Regions from separate parts of the Homo sapiens genome. Here regions 1 and 3 are each linked to region 2. Evidence: promoter capture Hi-C in human tissues and cell types (Jung and others, 2019). All regions are on one chromosome and are shown on one strand. The core of a region is centred on a gene start or on the middle of the fragment in contact, and the rest is flanking DNA. Distances in the headings are between cores, read along the strand shown.

Evidence for each region. Contacts are between HindIII fragments. The study calls those that stand out against the background at their distance.
Region 1: a fragment that was not itself captured here is called in contact with the fragment with the promoter of WDR4 in region 2 in 4 of the 25 tissues and cell types used here (bladder, lymphoblastoid cells, mesenchymal stem cells and 1 more).
Region 3: a contact is called between a fragment that was not itself captured here and the fragment with the promoter of WDR4 in region 2, in 1 of the 25 tissues and cell types used here (spleen).

The regions. Positions count from the first base shown.
Region 1 is chr21:42,598,455-42,602,037 of GRCh38, forward strand. LINC01671 (long intergenic non-protein coding RNA 1671) reads right to left here. Exons shown (of 2, transcript NR_131192.1): 2 at 950-2,394. Among named protein-coding and RNA genes, the nearest start is that of LINC01671, 15 kb to the right of the region's middle. The HindIII fragment of the contact is 9,872 bases long and covers 1-3,583 here.
Region 2 is chr21:42,878,145-42,881,457 of GRCh38, forward strand. It overlaps WDR4 (WDR4 tRNA N7-guanosine methyltransferase non-catalytic subunit), which reads right to left and starts at 1,395. Exons shown (of 11, transcript NM_018669.6): 1 at 1,263-1,395. The coding sequence starts at 1,351. LOC105372817 (a long non-coding RNA gene) reads left to right here and starts at 1,568. Exons shown (of 4, transcript XR_937765.3): 1 at 1,568-1,611. RefSeq lists enhancers at 1-420, 421-1,385, 1,038-1,087, 1,118-1,227, 1,298-1,647. The HindIII fragment of the contact is 11,595 bases long and covers 1-3,313 here.
Region 3 is chr21:42,556,367-42,559,663 of GRCh38, forward strand. SLC37A1 (solute carrier family 37 member 1) reads left to right here. Exons shown (of 20, transcript NM_001320537.2): 11 at 2,592-2,723. Among named protein-coding and RNA genes, the nearest start is that of SLC37A1, 44 kb to the left of the region's middle. The HindIII fragment of the contact is 7,302 bases long and covers 1-3,297 here.

The DNA of each region.
Region 1 (3,583 bases), core at 477-2,976, 280 kb before region 2:
CTTTCCACTTCATAGGTCTCCAGTCCAGAAAGGGCCTGTCCAGACCCGCTGAGGACCACTGGACACCACCCACAATGGAGAGACCACCTAGATCGCCAGGGCAGCCGTAGCACTTCCGGCAGGACTGGTGGGAACTTCAGGTAGGACTGGCGGGAACTTCAGGTGGGAGAGAGAGAATGTTCTTCATACGTGAGGGGAAGAAGCTTGACCTTGGGATGGCCATGTGATGTCAGCACTGGTCAGTTACTTCTGGTTTCTCTACTCTGGGAGGGTGGCAGTGTGGTAGGCGGGTCCCCAGGAAACAGACTCAGATTCAGACCCTAGCAGGCAGGAGGCTCATCGTGAAGTTCCCTTGGGGTCAAGGGTCATGGAAAGGAGGCAGCAGAGGATGGCACAGGGAGAGAGACGGCAGCCTTGAGCCCCCATGGAGAGAGAGAACCATCCCATCACGCTTGGCCCAAACAGCCATGCCTGACCTTCCCTAGGGGTCGTTCAGGCCTCCTCTGCGGCAGGTGCTCTCTGGGAGCACCTGCCTGTTACACACAGATCTTTGCACCTCCTGCCCACTCCCCCACGTCCAACCCATGCCTCATCCCTGACTGCCCATCCCCACTCTCCACATCGCTCCCATTCTGGGTTCAGCCGGCAAAGTCGTTGGCCATTGCCCATGGGTTCAGAGATCTTCTAACCTCACAGCCACTTACACAGAGGGGATGACCACTGGGAGAATGTTCCCTCATCACCCTCTGTGTTAGTCCGTTCTCACATTGCTATAAAGATACTACCCAAGACTGGGTAATTTATAAAGAAAAGAGGTTTCATTGACTCACAGTTCTGCATGGCTGGGGACGCCTCAGGAAACTTACAATCATGGCGGAAGGGGAAGCAGGCACGTCTTACGTGGTGGTGGGTGAGAAAGACAAGTGCAAGCAGGGGAATTGCCAGACACTTATAAAACCATCAGATCTCATGAGAACTCCTTCACTATCACGAGAACAGCATGGGGAAAACAGCCCCCATGATCCAATCACTTCCCATCAGGTCTCACCCTCATCACCTGGGGATTACAGTTCAAGATGAGATTTGGGTGGGGACACAGAGCCAAACCATATCACCCTCTTTAAAGGGCAGCTTGCTGAGACTGGAGTATGGCAGCCAGGCGATTTGGGCTGGCCCCACAGGCAGAGCAGACACCTCCATGAACTGAGGCCGGGCTTGTCCCTCCCTCCTCAGTTCACCAGAAGGTTCCTCCACTGGGGCTGTGGGGACTGCTGTGGAGGGTGGGGGGGGGTACTGGGCAGCTGCCGCTGCTTGGCCTCCTGCTCCTGCTTCTGCTGCTGCCACACGCACACTCCCACCTGTGATGGGTTATTTCTGAGTCCCCAACCTCATGACCCAGGGGTGAGACAGAATCCAGCTCATCTGAGCAGTTCCACATGCACAATCAGGTATTCCATCACCCCAGGCCCCAGGAGCACATCAACAGGGACTTTTCAGAATTTTTCGCAGAATCCTCTGCCGCAGATGGCACGGCTTTGTTTCTGAATCCCAGGGGCCTGCACTGTGATTCTGGCATAGTGGTTTGCCATAAACACACAGCATTGCTTTCCCACGTCTGATACCTCTCATAACACAGGGTCCGACCAGCTGCAGGGCCTGAGTCACAGGGCTGCCAGCACTGCAGCCTCGACCTGCTGCAGGCTCAGGGAAGGCCGACAGCTTCTCCTATCAATGGTACATAGGCTGGAGTAGTCTTCATGTGTGTGGAACGTGCTGCCTCCAGAAGGCGTACTGGCATTGTCTGTCTCTCTTGGTCATGGGAGATGCAAGATGCAGTAATTGGCTCTTTGCTGTGGACAGGAGGCCCAGTATGCTCCTGGTTATGGGATATGGGACCTCCCCACCAAGAGTGTTATTAGTGGCAGTTCCCAGAATCTTTGTAGGATTTGTCTGCCAGCTGCAGGCACTCAGGCATCTTACCAAGACTCCCAGTGTGTTAGCTGCTTCTTGGTTAGCACCCGGCCAGCGCAATGTAATCAATGTGGTGGGCCAGTGCCATGCTCTTTGGGATATCCAGCTTGTCCAGTTCTCTCTGGGCTTCCTTAGGGCATAGAATACATGGTTTATTAGCACATAACACTGAGGCAAAGCCAAGGTCCACTGTTATTCATCCTATGTGAAGGCAGGCTCTTTCGGATGCTCTTTCCTCGTAGGAATAGAAAAGAATGCACTTGCCATCTCAGTGGGGCAGAGCACACACCTGAGGCTGTGTTGATCCACCTTGACCGAGATCCCGCGCCTGGCAGGGCAGCTGCCGCTGTGGATTCTCCTTGGTGCAGCTTGCTGAAGTCCACTGTCTTCCTCCAGGAGTCTCCTATTTCTGCAGAGGCCAGCCTGGTAAATTAAATAGAGATACATTGAAGACCACCACCCCTATCCTTCAGCTCCTTAAGAGTAAAACTGAGTCACAACAGCTTGCATAAATCCTGTTTAAACATTTCAACTTACATAATCCTATCAACTTTTCATTTGTATGCTGTGGTCCTATTAGGGGTGGAAAATATCTGAGTCTCATGGTACCACATATGTTACCAGTGGAGGTATCCGAGTTATTGGCAGTGAATCCTTATGGGTCTGCAGCAACCTCAATTCTTGCCTCCTCAGAAGAAAGAATTAGACTGAGGGGCATAAGGCAAAAAAAGACACCAAGGCAACTTTCAGAAGAGGAATGGAAGTTTCTTTCAAAAGGCTTTAGAACAGGAAAGAGGCCGGGTGTTGTGGCTCACGCCTGTAATCCCAGCACTTTGGGAGGCCGAGGCGGGTGGATCACGAGGTCAGGAGATCGAGACCTTCCTGGCTAACACAGTGAAACCCCGTCTCTACTAAAAATACAAAAATTAGCCGGGCGTGGTGGTGGGCGCCTGTAGTCCCAGCTACTCGGGAGGCTGAGGCAGGAGAATGGCGTGAACCCGGGAGGCGGAGCTTGCAGTGAGCCGAGATCGCACCACTGCACTCCAGCCTGGGCGACAGAGTGGGACTCCGTCTCAAAAAAAAAAGAACAGGAAAGAAAGAAAACACACTTGGGAGAGACCCAAGTGGAAGGTCGAGTGCAGTGGTCGACCTAGGTTAACCATGATCCTAGGACTTTCCAGGCTGGCCCCTTTCCCATGGTTCTTCCCTTAGGATGGGCTGCCCGCATGCACATGCCCCCCTTACCCTTGGGAGGTGAGCACACACAGTGTGTTTAGGAAGTGGTACGCATGCCCCTCTGAGGCTTTCTTCCCTTTTCCTGTGGTGTGCCCCTGGAAGGTCACATTCTGCCATTTTGTTTCTTAATGCACATGGCTGGGAAGGTGCTTCTCCCTGGCGCCTGCATTCAGTGAACACTTTAGTGCAACAGGTGTAGACCATCAGGAAATGGCCTCTCACTGGTGCCGGCTGCCAATTTATCCCTTTTAGAGAGACAATGTGATCATTGCCAAAGCATCACCTGACGTTCCTAGTGGGTGGGAGAAGAGCTCTCTCCTCCCTCTGCTCATGAGTGTCTAACTATACCTGTAACAGCACCAGGAACTTCTTTTTT
Region 2 (3,313 bases), core at 145-2,644:
TATCTCACCTACCTGAAAGTGTTCCCATGACCCCAGGCACTTACCAACATAAGAATCACCCATTTTCCATACTGAACCTAAACTTCGGTTTATCCCATCCTCACCCCCTGGCACGTATCTTGTACATATTTATAGCCTTTAAAGCGAGTGCACCAAAAAACTTTCCATATGGAACCGTGGACTTGTCTTCCAAGTCAGAAACTCCACCAGCCACTAGAATTTCCTCAAAATGCAAAGACTGAAGGTAAGCAAATCATGTCTAATATATCCACAGCTCACTCTGGCAGATATTAGACCGTGAGTCTCTAAAACAAAATCATCTGGGATATGTGACGGGTTTCTGAGTACAATTTTTGTGAGACCTAACTTAACATCGAATTGGCTTTCTAAAACCAAACGAACAAAAAATATACAGTATATCTGACAGACACGTCGTCCGTTTCAAATATGAAATCACAAATAACCTGGGAAAGGAAACGAGGGGCTGAAACTGACAGCACTACTAATTGCTCCGAGAGTCCTGAGTTAGGACTGTTCCATCAACAAACATTTACTAAGTTAAAAATCCCCTGCGTCGTCCTAGCACTGGCGATACACTAAGGAAGGAGAATAAAATTACGGAAAGCAAAACCCGAGCCGTGCGAAGGGCCACTAGGGAGGTGCGCACTGCGAGCTCCACGTGCACCCTTGGGTTGGGTAAGTGTCGGAGATGACTTGGAGCCCTAAGGAGCAATTAAGGCCAGGTGAGTGGATGCAGGCCGGGAAGAGGGAACAGACAACCCTGCAAAAAGAGGGAGCGCGCTTGGAGGTCAGTGAGCTCGCAGTGAGTAAGCCCCTCCCTTCTCACCAGGGAGACCCGAGACCCGCTTCTTCCCAGTTCTGCAGAGCGTGTTCGGCCGGGCCTTGCTGACTGGTCAGCGTCGCCCCACGTGCTCTACCTACCCGGTCCCCGCCGGCGCCGCGGAGACCGGAAGCGACCCGGCGGCGCTAACCGGGCAAGAACACCGCAGACCAGCCATCTAGTGCAAGGAGCGCGCCGGAGCCGGGGAGCGGACGCCGAGAGCGGACGGCGAAAGCGGACCCTCCAGGCGCAGAGACGCGGCCAGGCCGAGACTGCGGCGGAGGACTCGTGGGCTGGAGCGGAGTTCCCCGGGGTCACCCCAGAGTGGGTGCGACCAGGCGGTGCGGGAGAAGCGGGGTCGCCAGGACCCGACGCGCGCCCGCAGCCTGGTCTCCCTGTTCCAAGACCAAGGCCCCCTCACCTGCTTGCTATGGAGGTGGCCAGGAATCGGCTGCCGCCCCGCACCACCAACGTCTGCCCGCACAACGCCAGTCCCACAGAGCCCGCCATGTACCCGCCCGCCTCACCGCCATACACATGTGCCAGCCCAGAGCCTCTTCCTGTCCGCACCGGTCGGTGACGCCAGGCGCAGACGCCGAGAGATGACGTATACCCCACGTACCGCGCATGCTCAAGGACGAGCCTGCCTTGAGCATGCGTGAAAGGTGCTGTGACCGCCCTCCGGGTTGTGGCTGGTGGCCTTCGGTGTTTCGGGTTTGGCAGTTCACTCACCAAGGTGATCTGATGGAGTGCACTTCGCACGATTCCAAGTACTTGCCTAATGTTCATCCTTTCCTCTAGACGGGGTAGGGCTGGTTCTGGATCTTTTTCCGCGGTAGCTGGAGAGACGTAGGACCTGATGATGGCTACTAGATGCCTGGTAAATGATCCTTCAAGAAGTGAATGAACCGGGGGCCGTGGCTCACATGAAGTCAGCAGTTCGAGAGCAGCCTGACCAATATGGTGAAACCCCGTTTCTACTAAAAGTACAAAAATTTGTTGGGCGTGGTGGCGTGCGACTGTAGCCCCAACTACTTGGGAGGCTGAGACAGAAGAATTGCCTGAACCCGGGAGGCGGAGGTTGCAGTGAGTCGAGATCGCCCCCGCTGCACTCCAGCCAGGGCGACAGAGCGAGACTCTCTCTCAAAAAAAAAAAAAATGTCCAAGATGTGGTCATGGGTGAGGGTGTCTCGGGTGGCGTCAAGTCTGAGGTCGCTAGAAGTAAGCCTACTGAATCTTTGCACTTAGACAAGCCACAGATGCCTTAAAATCTCCGAACTGTAGTGATATTTTCAACCCAAACTATGGTTAGTTTCCAGTGTTCATCCCAAGATCCCCAAAAGCCTCTTACAATCCCAGCATCAGGCACAAAATCTAGGATCTCACGGTCTGTTTTAGATTGGCTTGTCCGGTGCAGCTCCTCTTGATCCAGAGACTTACAAACTAAAAAGATTAATTTTCTCTCCCGTGCACGCAATATATGATGGTGAGCCGGGACCAGATAACCACAATAAATACTTGCATGTGAAAATGAGAAGAGGAGGAGACACAGTAATCACTGGTCCAAAGCAATTCTGAAATCCTACTGGAAGATGTTTTCAGGCCCTACAAGAATAAGAAGTCTTAACCAGGCCCGAGTTCTGCTTCCTGGGAGTATCTCCCCAGGCTGTATCTCAGCACAGCTCTTGCCTCTGCCCTCTTGGGTGTCCCTCCTTTTCCAGCACCTTCTTGGCCATGTTGAAGAATGTGCCCTTTGAGAAACTTTCTCAACCTCCTTCCTGTCATTAGCAAATTGTGAGCCCACAGACCTTTTTTCACTCTAAACTGTTCTGTCCACATTTTGGCAGCTGGTGGTGCTTTGTTCACTACAAGTCCCTTAAAAGCTTTATGGGCTTCTCAAGAATCTGATTCAGGTGCTCTCCATGCCCAAGAAGCCACTCCCACTAGTCTTTTTTTTTTTTTTAGACGGAGTCTCGCTCTGTCGCCCAGGCTGAAGTGCAACCTCCACCTCCCGAGTTCACGCCATTCTCCTGCCTCAGCCTCCTGAGTAGCTGGGACTACAGGCGCCCGCCACCACGCCTGGCTAATTTTTTGTATTTTTCAGTGGAGACGGGGTTTCACCATGTTAGCCAGGATGTTCTGGATCTCCTGACCTTGTGATCCGCCTGCCTCGGCCTCCCAAAGTGCTGGGATTACAGGCGTGAGCCACCGCGCCCAGCCACTTGTTAACATTTAAATCATTGAGATCACCTTGACTTCAGCATTATTCTTAAGGCCATATTTTATTAGCGCCACTCTGAATTTGATCTTTGGCCCAGGTTATGACTTACTTTGAGAACTTGTTACCAACTATTGGGTCTAATAATACTTTCCCCAGCTTCAACCCAAAGTGTGCTCTAAATTCTGCTGGCCAGTTTGTTTGTTTGTTTGTTTTTAACCACACTCTTTTCTATAAGTGTCTCAACATATTCA
Region 3 (3,297 bases), core at 172-2,671, 320 kb before region 2:
ACTCCACCGTGCACTTTGCACGCCAAGTGGGGACTCCACAAATCTCTCTTGTGATGGCCTTTCCCAAAGGGAAGCTGCAGACAGCATCGGGTAGCGGGGTGAGCTTAGCATTTTTAGATAAAGCGATCGTTATTACGCAGTCCCCCCACATGCGTCTGTGTGTATTTTTGTTGTGTGTGGGGGCATTTTAGTAGAGGGAACCCTTTTCTCTTTGAAAGTGTAAGCCCTAAGCGTGGAGTGCACTGGCCACAGAAGCCCCCACACCCACCGGGGGCTCCACAGATCCCATTTGGGGCTCTTGGGACACAGACTGGAAACTGCTTGTTTAGAGGCAGAGGTGCCTCTTGGCCTCCAGCCTTGTCTTGGTCCACCCAGTGGCTTCTTGTTTGCTATGTAAGGAGGAGGCAGCAGCAGCCCCCTGTTTGTTTTGGAAAACCAGCCATGGCCCCACACTCTTTCCCATCTCCTCCAGGAGCAAACAACTCAGGTATGGTGGCTACAAGTCCTGTTTAAGATGAGTGGCTGTGAGCACAGGGCCCGTTCTCAGCAGAAACAGAGCCTTCTGTCTGTCTCGGGGGCTCCTTGCTGCTTAGATAAGGAGCAGAGGGTCTGTGTCTGTGGCTTTAAACCAGCCCAGCAAGTGGACCCTGAAGCACTTTACAAATCCTGCAAGGGCCGTGGGCGGCCTTTGGGCATCTGGGTCCTACCTGAGGCCAAGTAGGTCTTCTGTGTTGACCTGCGGTCACTTCTCTGCGGGTCAGAGGGTGCGCTTCTCCTGGCTAAGCGGCCTCGTTCCGCTTGACTTTTCTCCAGCTGGCTGCATTTCACCCACTGCTGAGCCTGTTTCCTGCGGAACGGCCTGTGAAGTCCTGTAGCCCTCAGCTTGCTATGAGTGGAACTCGCCTGGGGCTGCCCCAGGGACTGCTTCCGTGGGGCTGGGGGAATTCGAGGCTTCTCAAAGCCCCCCGAGGAGATTCCAGTGCTTAGCCACAGTAGAGCATTACTGATGTAGTTTTCTAAACTGGACGATTAGCAGAATTCATGAGAGAAAAGTTTATTCAGAAACTCAAGTCGCCATTCTTTGCTTTCACGTGCCGTGATGGGATTATCATCGGGAGCATGTTAGGCATCTGCACTCAGCCTTGTCATCTTCATTCCAGAGCACCTGACTATGTGGCCACATGTGAATATCTTCATCAGAGACCCGCTCTCCATGCCAGAGTCCTAGCTGTGAAGCCGGGCTTCCTGGGGCACGTAGACGCTGGGCTGCCCCCAAGGCCACCCACTGGGTGCCCACACTGGGCTGCACTCGGTGCCACCTGCCACCCGGTTTCCAAATGTCTGTTTTCCACTGGAAGAGAATTCTAAATATTCTAAATATCAAGGGGCAGGGGAATGTGGAATACATTACCATTTTCTTTTTTTTTTTTAATTAAACTACATTTTTAGTCCAACTTATAACAGGTTATAGTGAGATAAGTACCACAAAGCCTGTTTGATTTTGTGAAAGGTCTGAGATACCTAGAAGCATTTCTTTGTAAGACCTTGAACCTCATAGCTCACTCATGAAGAATATTTTTATTTTATTTTCATTCTTTTTTGAGACAGGGTCTTGCCCGGGCTGAAGGACAGCCGCACAATCACAGCTCACTGCAGCCTCCACCTCCTGGGCTCAGGTGATCCTCCTGCCTCAGCCTCCAGAGCAGCTAGGACTACAAGCGCATACCACCACATTCCACTATTTTTTTTTAGGTCTTACTGTGTGGCCCAGGCTAAGATTATTTTTATGTTATCCTTGCTCTGACTTGAAATCCCACTCTAGGTTGGGGAATCACTCTTCTTTGCTTTAATGAATGTACACTTTGTCCTTTAGGAACGTCTAGACAATCAGAATTCATAAATATCAGAATAGGTGTATTTTAAAATAATGTTGGTGTATTTTAAAATAATGTTATTTCTGGTCATATATGGCCATTGTGAACTCCTAAAAAATGCAGGATCATGTAAAGAATTTCTTATTAGCATTTCGATAAAAATTACACATAATTCCACCACTCGCTGACAACCATTGTTGGCTTAGATTTTAGCTTCTTTCTTTCTAGAAATAGATCCTATAGTTGCCTAGTTACATACGTAGATATTTAAACATTCTTTGAGGTTATAATGACATGCAGTTTTGAATGATGTGTTATTTAATGTGTCATAAGCATTTTCCGTCATTAAAATCTCCCAACCTTTTTTTTACAAGATGTCATTCGTATGGATGTATTTGAATTTTCTATTTTTTCTCAATGATGATGTGACATCCATTTTACTTTATAAGTATCTTTTTACTTTTCAAATTATTTTTTGCCAATAGATTCCTAGAATTTCTGGATCAGAGGATCTGTGTACCTAGCCGTTCATGAAAATGCATGAATGCTAATCATTCTAACACAGTGGCCAGGTGGGAATGTCACCCAGGATGTCTCCAAGGCAGTGGAAGAGAGAGCCGCCAGGCACCCTCGTCATTAGGAAGCCTGGCCCCACTTCACCCAGACTGCCCGGCTGGTAACACCTTTCCTTTTTGTTCCCAATGGATTTGCCTCCAGGACCCAGAGATGCAGTGCCTGCTGCTCTCAGATGGGAAGGGCTCCATCCACCCGAACCACGTCGTCATTCTCCCCGGGGACGGTGGGAGTGGCACGGCCGCCATCAGCTTCACAGGGGCCTTGAAAATTCCAGTAAGTAAACGTGCCCAGGAGGAGTTTCAGAAAGGGCTGCTGTGCTGGCTGTGGGAAGTCTGGTCGGTTGATGATTAAGCTTAAAAAGACATCTGTGGTTGTAGAACCCGGGGATTCGAATCCATAGCCAAAGCTAGACGCTGCACAGTGCTAGCTTCAGGACTGAATATGGCTGCAGTGATATTTGTTCGCCTCATACCATGTTTAAATTTTTTTTGAAATTCGTTTTCTCCATTTAGAAATTCAGGTTCATAGAAAAATGGGGCTCCCTGCCTTCACTGGAAAAACGGAAAGCCTGGCACCCTGGGCCTGCCCCCATGTGACAGGTTGGGGAACTGAGGCCCTGACTACTGTGCCACCTGGCCCCTGTGGCCCGGCCCCTCCCCAGTGCACTTGCCCTCCCACAGGCCTTGAGCGTGAGCCCATGGGAGGCGCTGGCACTGAGTGCTGCGCCGTGGCCTTCGCGAGCCCGGCTGGATTCTCTTTCCCTTTAAAGTGCCTTTAGGCTGGGCGCAGTGGCTCACGCCTATAATCCCAGCACTTTGGGAGGCCGAGGCAGGCAGATCACCTGAGG